2 separate regions of the Homo sapiens genome follow, and region 2 is linked to region 1. Evidence: promoter capture Hi-C in human tissues and cell types (Jung and others, 2019). All regions are on one chromosome and are shown on one strand. The core of a region is centred on a gene start or on the middle of the fragment in contact, and the rest is flanking DNA. Distances in the headings are between cores, read along the strand shown.

Region 1 (5,170 bases), core at 519-3,018:
CCCGGCCCAGAGTTGCTTTTTAAGAAAGGAAGAGAAGACTCACCCCCAAGAAAATAGAGGCAACAGCAGTATTAACAAAAGAAAGAGATCATTACATTCTTAGGCTCTTCAGGGATTTAAATCTGGAGCCTCCTGCAGCTTTCTGACATTTGAGCCTTACTCTAGGGTGATTTCCACGGTTCCCACGTCCCTTTCAAGAGAACAGCTATCACTTATATTCCTCAGTGTTTCTTCTTTGCTCCAGACTGGTTGTGAAGCCGTAAAAAGGGTAACGCTGGAGCCCAGAAATCAGCTGGTGAATACCGCGCCAGGTGCCAGGTCCATCGCGGCGAGGCTGCAGGAGCCCTGGAGGGGAGCAAAAGGAGCCCCGCGCGCACCGGACAGGCTGTGCTCTTTGTTAAAGAAACAAATACAGAAAACGCCGCGGCGGGGAATGGTGGTGGTGAAGAAATAGACTGAGGCGTTTGTATGCATTAACTGTGCCTACAAAGCCCATTAAAGAGACGCTCCTACACAGGGCAACCCACGGCACCGTGTCATTGGCTTTTGTGCACTTGAAGGCGCGTGAGAGTGCCCCGCTCGAAGGCTCCCCTTTGTGTGAAAGTGTGGAAACCAGAAGCGTGCAGCCACTGCTGGGTTTTCGTTTTCGAATTCGCAGGCACTTGGGCCAAAATACTCCCACACCAGAACACTCTCTCATTCTCGCACCAACAACACTCAGACTTGAGTTACTTCTCCGTTGCGGACCGCGCAAGGAGCGACAATGGCTAGGTGCGAGTGCCCGCAGCTCCCCGGGCAGCTCCAAGGGGCCGCCCGCCGCGCTCCGCAGCTGCGCGCTGGGCCCAGCCACCCGACAGCCAGCAAACGCCGGCACCAACCGCCGCGCGGCCGGGCTGTTGGGCGGGTGGTAATTTCTGGGAATGGGGCGGGGTCGCGGGTGTACTACGCCCGGCTTTTGCTAGCGGGGAGGAGGAGCTGGCGGCGCCGAGGGGCGCGAGGCTGGCGGGGCGGTGCGCCACGTGCGTCACCGGCCGGGGCGGGGCCGGCGTCGCGCTCCTGCCCGAACCCCCACCTTTCACTAAGCCAAGGCTGAGGAGTGGGAACTGGAAAGACCGGGCTAGGAGTTTTTGCAAAACCTCGCCCCCCTGTAACTGTCAGACTGCCCGACTGTGGGGCCGTCTCCGGAGAAGGGCGAGAGTCCTGAGTTGGGGATGCGGTGACGGCGGGGCCTGCGGGGGCCCTGAGTGGCGAGGGTGTGTGCGTGCGGTCCCGGCCGGCGGGGGAAAGCCGGCGGGCGCTGCAGGTGCACGCGCGGCCCCATCGGCCTCACACGCCTGCCCCGTGCGGCAGAGCCCCCTGCACCAATCCGGGGCTGGAGTGGAGAGCGAGATCGGGGAGCCCTGGGCAAGGAGCCGGACAAGTGACGAGCGTCTTTACCTGGGAAGGCGGGTTTGGGAGAAGTTGGGCGAGGAGAAGAGGGCGGGATTCAAGACAGCAAAAGAAGCAGGTTCGGCGGGCTGGTGGGGGCCCGAGGGCGGCGGGGCCCCGCGGGGTATAAATAGCCGGCCCGCGTTTGACAGGCGCTGCGGTGACTGGCGGTGCCGCCCCCGCCCCCCCGCCGCGTGGGGAGGGGAGGAGCACTCTGAGCTGGCGGGGAGGGGGAGGCGGACTCCAGTGTCCTGGTGGAGGCGGCAGGAGGCCGAGGGGGAGGAGCCGAGGCGGGGGGTGGAGGGAGGGGGCCGGGAGCGGAGCGGGGCGGGGGCAACCATTGCTCCCAGCGCCAAGCTCTGTGTCGCCGCCGTCGCCTAGGCGGTTGGGGGTCGGTGGGGCGGCGCGGGCGGGGGTCGCTGCGCGGGGCGGCGAGCCTCTGTTTTGTCTCCTTCTCTCCCTGTGGAGCGGCTCGGGCTGCTGGGGAGGCCCCGGCTCCCTCCGGACGCTCGGCCAACGGCGGCGGCTAGTCCGCGGCCCTGCTGAGAGGGAAAAGGACGCCGCGGTCTTCCCAGGCGTCGCGGAGAGCAGGTAAGAGCGCGGGCAGCCGAGGCTGGTGAGAGGGAGCGCGAAGGGCGCGGCGATAAAGCCTGGCTGTCCCGACTGCCGCCGCCTCCCTCCGCGCCCCCGCCCCGCGCTTGTGTTGTTTGCTTCGGGGTTTGCGGAGGGGTTTTCCGGCGGCTGCGGCGGTGACACCGGCCGGGGGCTGGGGGAAGGGGGCTGAGTGTCCCCAGGCAACGGTCGCGGAGCGGGACTTGGAGAAAGGGGAAGGCGCGCTGCGCGCCTGCCCGCGGGGAGCGCGGGGCGCGGGGCAGGGCTGAGGGAAGAGGTTACAGACCCCGGCGGGGGGGATGGGCCGAGCGCAGCTGGTCTCTCCGTGTTTACATCTCTGCGCGAGTCACCTCTGCCGAGAAGCGGACTGAACTGACCCGCCTCATCCCGCGGGGAGGCCAGGGCGGGGGTCCGGCTCCGGAGGAAGCGCGTCCTGGGAGGGTTTGTGTAGGGCGGGAGTCTGCGGCCGGCGCCGGGGCTGGGCGGCGAGCTCGGGGCGGGACCTGGGAGGCTCCGGCCGCTCTGGGTGGCGGGCAGGCGGGGGGGGGCGCTGGACACCAGTTTCCTTCCCTGTCGTGCCTTATCGCCGCCGCTTACCTTTCCTTCCCGGCGCTGCTAGCTTGCACGACAGGTTGTACTCGGCAGTTCTTTTATTCTCGCTCTCCACGCCGGCACCGTGCTGCCATCTCCCCCTATTCCCCGGGAGGTAGGGAGGCTTTGCTCGGATCGGAATCTGTTTCTTAAGCAAAACAAAAACGGGCTCGTAACAGGCACGTCCAGTGACCGCCTTCTGGATCCTCGCGAAGCTGGTCCTCAGGGACCGCGCGACGGGATGGTCTAGGGGCGCGGAAGGAGGACAGGGAGGGCTCTGCCAGGGCTGGATGCTGACTCTACCCCAGGAGCTTTGTGATCAGGGTAGCCGAGCCCTCTCTTCTGCTCCATTTGGGCATTTTTATTCCATGTCCATAAAGGACTCAAAAAATATTCCGTGACACCAAGAATAATCCAGATCGCACAGTTTCTAATCTTTTTCCCTCTGCCAGCATCCTGGATGGACTCTTTCTAGGAGGCAGATTCGCTGCAGAATAGCCTTTAAGTTTAGTACTTCATTAAATGAGGAAGAGGGGGACACGTCATTGTAAAACTGTTAAAAATTCCCCCCTTTCTTGTGTTCATGAACATTTACTTCAGCTTAATGGTTTAAATTGTAATCCGGTGATGAGAGAATAGTAATCGTGTGTTTGATAATCAGATTTGTTTTCCTTTTTATCTGTGATTCTCTATCCTGAAGTAAATTATGCACTTTCTTTGGTGCCAGAATCACGGAAGGATGTATGCTTTACTAAGAAAGGATTGGATATTTGTGTTTCAGAGTTTCTTCAAAAGGTAGAATGACTTATATAGGACTGGAAACCATTAAATTACATTTAAGGGAATTTAGGAATAATAAAACTTTTTATAGAGCATTACAGTTTACAGAGTACATTCATGTAAATATTATTGAGACGATATCTAGTAGTTAAACACATGAAATAGAAAATTGGAATATCCTGGGCATTTGAAGTTTGAATATTTATGTCAACCTATTTTTAAGTTTAGTGATTTAACTCATTGGATTTATCATTGCCTTTCATTTCAGACATAAATACTCATTTACAAAATAGTCAGCTTGAGTATGGTTGGAAAGAATTTGTAACTTTGGGATTTTTCTGTCCTAAGTAAACAGATTGGTACCTGTGGCCTGTAGGGTCTGCTAATGTTAGTGGCTTTACCTGCTCATGTTGTATACCATTTTTGGAGGAGTAACAGCTTCACGATGATATAATTCACATACTAGTCAGTTCAGTTTAAAGTGTACAGTTTGGTGGGTTTATTAATTTTTTAAAAAATTACTCCATTTTGCAGGTGAACAATTCAGTGGTTTTTACTACAATTGTCCATCGGTATCTGTTGGGGATTTGTTCTAGGGCCTTCCTCAGACACCAGAATCTATGGATGCTCAGGTCCCTAAAATAAAATGGCATAGTTGCTGGGTGCAGTGGCTTGTGCCTGTAATCCCAGTTATTCAGGAGGCTGAGGTGGGAGGATCTCTTGAGGCCAGAGTTTGGACACCAACCTGGGTGACAGAGCAAAATCCTGTCTCCTAGGAAAAATGAATAAAACTGACATAGTATTTGCATATAAACTCTGCATATTCTCTTGTATGCTTTAAATCATCTCCACATCACTCATACTACCTAATACAATGTGGATGCTATGTAAATAGTTGTTATACTGTGTATTGTTTAGGGAATAATGACCAGAAAAAAGTCTGTACATGTTCATTTACAGACATAATTTTTTTTTGAGTAGTTTCTGTACCTCATTGATTGAATCCATGTATTCAGAACTCATGGATATGGAGGGCCGACTGTATATTCAGAGTTGTGCAGCCATCACTATACTCAATTTTACAGCATTTTAATCATCCCCCAAAAGAGCCCCATATCCATTAACAGTCGCTTTTCATTTTCCCTCAGCACTCCCAGTCCTATGCAACCACTGATCGACTTTCTATCATTATAGATTAGACTGTTGTGGACATTTTATGTAAATGAAACCATAAATGCGGTCTTTTGTGACTGGCTTCTTTCGTTTAGCATAATGCTTTCAAAGTATATCCATGTTGTAATATGTGTCAGTACTTCATTTCTTTTTTTTTTAAAATCTATTTTCTTTCTTTCTTTTTTTTTTTTTTTTAAGATGGAGTCTCGCTCTGTCGCCTAGGCTGGAGTGCAGTGGTGTGATCTGGCTCACTGCAACCTCTGCCACCCGGTTCAAGCGATTCTCCTGCCACAGGCGCATGCCACAACACCTGGCTAATTTTTTTTTTTTTTTTGTATTTTTAGTAGAGATGGGGTTTCACCGTGTTAGCCAGGATGGTCTCGATCTCCTGACCTCGTGATCCGCCCGCCTTGGCCTCCCAAAGTGCTGGGATTACAGGGGTGAGCCACCGCGTCCGGCTAATCTATTTTCTTTTTTATAGAGATGGGGTTTCACCATATTACCCAGGGTAGTCTTGAACTCCTGGGCTTGAGCAATCCTCTCTCTTTGGCCTCTCAAAGTGCTGGGATTTCAGGCTTGAGCCACT
Region 2 (5,039 bases), core at 2,502-5,001, 320 kb before region 1:
ATTGTACCTAATATGTAGATTTTTATCCCTAGCTCCCTCCCACCCTCCCCCTTCTGAGTCTCTGAAGTCCATTATGTCACTCTGAATGCCTCTGTGTACTCATAGCTTAGCTCCCACTTATAAGTGAAAACATAACGGGTTTTGGTTTTTCATTCCTTGGTTACTTCACTTAGAATAATGGCCTCCAGCTTCATCCAAGTTCAGCACGAATTTCTTAAGCTTTACCACATAGCAGTCCCTCTTCTGGGCCATTAGCAAATCAGCAGTGAATAAAAACAAAATCCTTGCCTTTGTGGAGCTTGCATTTTAGTGAGGGAAACGGATAAGAAGCAAGTAAATGACTGTATGTGCCTGGGTAAGTGGTATGGGACAAAGAGAGGAGAATAAAGAGGGTGAGGAGGTGTGCAGGGCCAAGAGGGGTGCTATTTTTTTGTGGGGGAAAGTCAGGGAAGACCTCATTTCCTGAGAGAGAGAACAAATTATGGAGATTCCAGGGGAAACATTTCAGGCTGAGGGGGGCCGCAGAGAGCCACGACCTGAGGTGGGAATGCTCAGGGAAGCGCAGGAGGCCAGGGGACCGGCCAGTGGGGAGAGAAGAGAATCAAATTCTACAGGGGCCCCGAAAACTATTTCAAGGACTTTGTTTTAAACTCAGAGTGCGAGGTGCAGTGGTGCAGCCAGTCACGGTGGCTTATGCCTGTAATCCCAGCACTTTGGGAGGCTGAGGTGGGCAGATCATCTGAGGTCAGGAGTTTGAGACCAGCCTTGCCAACATGGCAAAACCCCGTCTCTACTGATAATACAAAAATTAGCTGGGCGTGGTGGTGCATGCCTGTAATCCCATCTACTCAGGAGGCTGAGGCAGGAGAATCGCTTGAAACTGGGAGGCGGAGGTTGCAGTGAGCCAAGGTGGCACCACGGCACTCCAGCCTGGACGACAGAGCAAGACTCCGTCTCAAAAAAACAAAACAAACAAACAAAAACCACCAGCTTTCTTAAACTTAGTTTACTACAGTTTCTGAAAATGCTTTTGAAATTGTAATTGCTGTTAGCCCTTTCATTGGAAGGATCTCAACAGAAGAATGACAAGATCTTCCTCCCACGTGTAAAAGGATCACTCAGGCTGTTGTACTGAGAATAGGCTGGAGTGGGAGTAGGGACCCAGGTGGAAGCAGGGGGTTCATGATGATGGTGGGCAGGACAGAGGGGCCATGGTGAGGAGAAGTGGTTGAACTGGCGTGCATCATAGGAAGAAACAGTAGAATGTGCTGAGATATGGCATTAGGCATTTCACTGATTATTCAGGAATGGTGAGGCCAACAGATCAGGAGACAAATGCCGCTCTCAAAAATTTGCTGAAAAATCAACTCAAAATCAAAAGGCAGATTAATTGGAGAAAAAGCACATACATTTATTTAATGTGTATACACAAGAGCCTTTAGAATGATGATCCAAAGGTATAGGGGAAATTGGCCATTTTTATACTTAGGTTCAATGAAGTATGAAATATGTTTGGACAAAAACGGCATGATCTAATGCTAACAGGCTGAGTGGGAAAACCTAGCAAAACCTCTCTGTCTAGATTCTTCCTGGCCTCTCTGAGCATGCATTCCTTTCTTCTGGGTATGGGGCAGGGTTGTCAGAACCCAGTGGGTTCTTCTTGCCCACTGCCCTGAAAACAAAAAAACAGTGCACTGAGAACAGCAGATGTTGCAGCGAAGAAAGAATTTAATGATCACAGGGCCAGCCAAGCAGGAAGACAGGAGAAATTTCTCAAATCTGCCTTCCCAAGAATTTAGAGGCTGGGGTTTTTAAGGGTACTTTGGTGGGAAGGGGGCTGGGAAACTGAAAGGATTGATTGGCTGTGGATAAAATCACAGGGGTGTCTAAACTGTCTTCATGCAGCTGAATCAGTTCCTGGGAGGGGGGGTCTTGGGACCAGGTGGCATCTCTGGGTCTGCTGAAATGCTAAATCTGAAAAATATCTCAAAGACCGATTCTTCAGGTTTCACAGTAGTAATGTTATCTACAGGAGTAGTTGGGGAAGTTATAAATCTTGCGACTCTGGGGCAGTAAGCAACTTACAGAAAAACAAGCTTGGCAATGGCAGGTCATTGTTTAACTCAGCCTATGCTTTAGCAAAGTTCAAGCCTCTACCATAATTCTAACCTTGCGTCCTCTTGTTAGTCTTTACAAATTCGATTTCCATTTTTGAACAAGGAAGGGACCAGTTCAAGGAAAGGACTATTATGGCCTCCACACAAGAATGAGGACAAGCAAGTTAACCTGGTAGAAGCAAGATAGTCAGTTATGTCAGATTTCTCTGACTATAATTTTGCAAAGGCAGCTTTAGTGCCCTTTCTGGAATGGGGGTCTTCTGACTATAGTCAAACAAGGTAGGTCAGAAAATTTTTTTCTTTTTGAGACAGACTCTTGCTTTGTTGCTCAGGTGGGAGGGCAGTGGTGCAATCTCGGCTCACTGCAACCCCTGCCTCCTGGGTTCAAACAATTATCATGCCTAATTTTTGTATTTGTAAAAGAGACAGGATTTCACCATGTTGGCCAGGCTGGTCTCCAACTCCTGGCCTCAAGAGATCCGCCCACCTTGGCCTCCCAAAGTGCTGGGATTACAGGCATGAGATAATTTCTTTATGGTCAGTTTTTACACAGAAAGGCAGAGGGAAAGTTAGAGTGATATTTTTAGGTTTTATGGCTGGCTTTGGGGAAAAATAGTTCTGGTTGGCAGGATCTGCCTTGGGGTCTATAGGCAGCCTCTGGGAAGGATGGGACTCAGAGACAGAAGGGCAGGAGAAAGTCAGAGAAAAATCTTTGCTCCTGAAGCTGCCTCTGAGGCCTTCATTTCTGGATATTGTCTTCTGAACCCCAACAATAGTTTGTTATTCACAGTTCCCAAGAGGAGGGGGCACACCATGTTACAGGGGCCACATGGGGAAGCACCAGGATCAAGTAGGAGGTAGATGGAGTAAAGAGAAAACGTAGACAAGAACCTGTATTGTGGTGTCTGCAGGAAGAAATGGAGAGGCAGTCAGCAGGCCTGGGATTGGCTAGCTTGAATAACTTCAGTAGATTCTGGGGTGTACCGGCTGTCTTTAGTTGTCTGGTACCTGACCCTGGGGTAATGGTGGCTTGGAGTGGAAGAGGCCTAAGAAGGAAGTGGTTGTAGGCACAGAGGCTGATTTGGTTAGGTTGCATGTGAAAGGTGCCAGGCCTTTGCTATCTCTAGGAATCAGCTAGCCCTGGGTGGGGGGCAGTCCCTCCAGAGCCCACAAGGCCCTAGATGTCAAAGAGTCAGCATTAAAAGACATGCTTTAATATAATAGGAAGTAAGGAATCAGGGATGAACTCCGCAGTTTTTGATCTGAGCAACTGAAAGAATGAAGTAATCACTTAGTGCAAATAACGGTCACCACTGATGATACTGATGGTCTTACCGTAAATCTCCTGCACTTTCCCAGTTTTTATTTCTATTTCCAAAACAACCCATTAATTTCTTCATGGTCCAGCTCCCTCTTGTGGTGAGGATTTATTCTCATACTGTTTCTGACATGCTGTAAAACAAACACCTCTAGGGAAAGGATGATTTAACACATTTTAAAAATCCCAGCACTTTGGGAGGCCGAGGCGGGTGGATCACCTGAGCTCAGGAGTTCAAGACCAGCCTGGCCAACATGGTGAAAACCCATCTCTACTAAAAATACAAAAATTAGCCGGGCGTAGTGGCAGGCGCCGCCTGTAATCCCAGCTACTCAGGAGGCTGAGGCAGGAGAATCGCTTGAACCCAGGAGGCGGAGGTTGCAGTGAGCCGAGATTGCGCAACTGCACTCCAGCCTGGGGAACAAGAGAGAGATTTCGTCTAAAAAAAAAACAAAAAAACAAAAAAACAAAAAAAACATGAAAACTCAGTTGATGTTCTTTCCTATCATCAGGTTGAACTTTGATTAGCTAAATTAAGACACCACTTCCAGGGCTTTTTAAATTTTTTTATTTTTTATTTTATTTTTTTTGAGACGGAGTTTCGCTCTTGTTGCCCAGGCTGGAGTTTAGTAATGGCGCAATCTCGGCTCACTGCAACCTCCGCCTCCCGTGTTTAAGCGATTCTCCTACCTCAGCCTCCCGAGTAGCTGGGATTACAGGTGCCTGCCACCATGCCCATCTAATTTTTGTATTTTTAGTAGAGACAGGGTTTCACCATGTTAGTCAGGCTGGTCTGGAACTCCCAACCTTGGGTGATTCGCCCACCTCGGCCTCCCAAAGTGCTGGGATTACAGGCGTGAGCCACCGCACCCGGACTTTATTTTTAAATGAGCCCAAATTTCAAGAGGGCTAATAGCACTTCTGGCGCCTACAGTAAACAAAGTTGAACAAAACTGGTTTATCTTTTAAAACAAACAGAAGCATTTCTGTGTCATACAGGTCTTTAAAATCTCTCTCTGCCTGGAGCACAGTTATCTGTAAAACACGAGTTATAAGATCATTAGTACTGGCTGGGCATTATAGGCATAAGCCACTGTGCTTGGCCTCTGAAATTTCTTTATCAGAATTATTATAGCACTCGGACTCTGTGTGTGTGCATGTGTGTGTGTGTGTGTACAGGAACACAACTTATCTAAGTACGATTTACAAAACCTACAGCTATGTGGAACACAGCCAGAAACCTGAGACTGAGTGACTTCTGAGCAGTCAATAGCTATTTCAGTTCATGCACTTTACTCTGTAGAAGAACAACCATAACACAGTCCCCGTGGAACATCAGGTTCCAGCCTTAGAGCCTCTGACCCAGTGAAAAGTCAGAGCCAGCAAAAGAGAGGATGGAGAAGATTTAGAAAAATGCAGCTGGGTTTCTAAAAGTCTCCTTTCTGGCTTTTCAGCACCGTGGCTTGAGATCTATGTACCTTAATAATCTCTGAAAACGTTCTCAGCCAGTTGCTTCTCCAATTTCAGTGGCCAGAAGAATCACCTGGGAACGTGTAAAAGAAGCAGATTTGGGGCTCCACTCCCAAAGATCCCACATCTGGATC

What was found. Contacts are between HindIII fragments. The study calls those that stand out against the background at their distance.
Region 2: a contact is called between a fragment that was not itself captured here and the fragment with the promoter of ELF2 in region 1, in 1 of the 25 tissues and cell types used here (lymphoblastoid cells).

Annotation. Positions count from the first base shown.
Region 1 is chr4:139,173,816-139,178,985 of GRCh38, reverse strand. ELF2 (E74 like ETS transcription factor 2) reads left to right here and starts at 1,768. Exons shown (of 10, transcript NM_001331036.3): 1 at 1,768-2,019. It overlaps LOC105379412 (a long non-coding RNA gene), which reads right to left and starts at 2,831. Exons shown (of 4, transcript XR_007058273.1): 1 at 2,638-2,831. RefSeq lists a cis regulatory region at 307-431, silencers at 798-1,177, 1,188-2,147 and an enhancer at 2,748-2,797. The HindIII fragment of the contact is 12,940 bases long and covers 1-5,170 here.
Region 2 is chr4:139,496,445-139,501,483 of GRCh38, reverse strand. It overlaps a transcript of SETD7 not described here. Among named protein-coding and RNA genes, the nearest start is that of RAB33B, 45 kb to the right of the region's middle. RefSeq lists a silencer at 3,395-3,689. The HindIII fragment of the contact is 5,185 bases long and covers 1,159-5,039 here.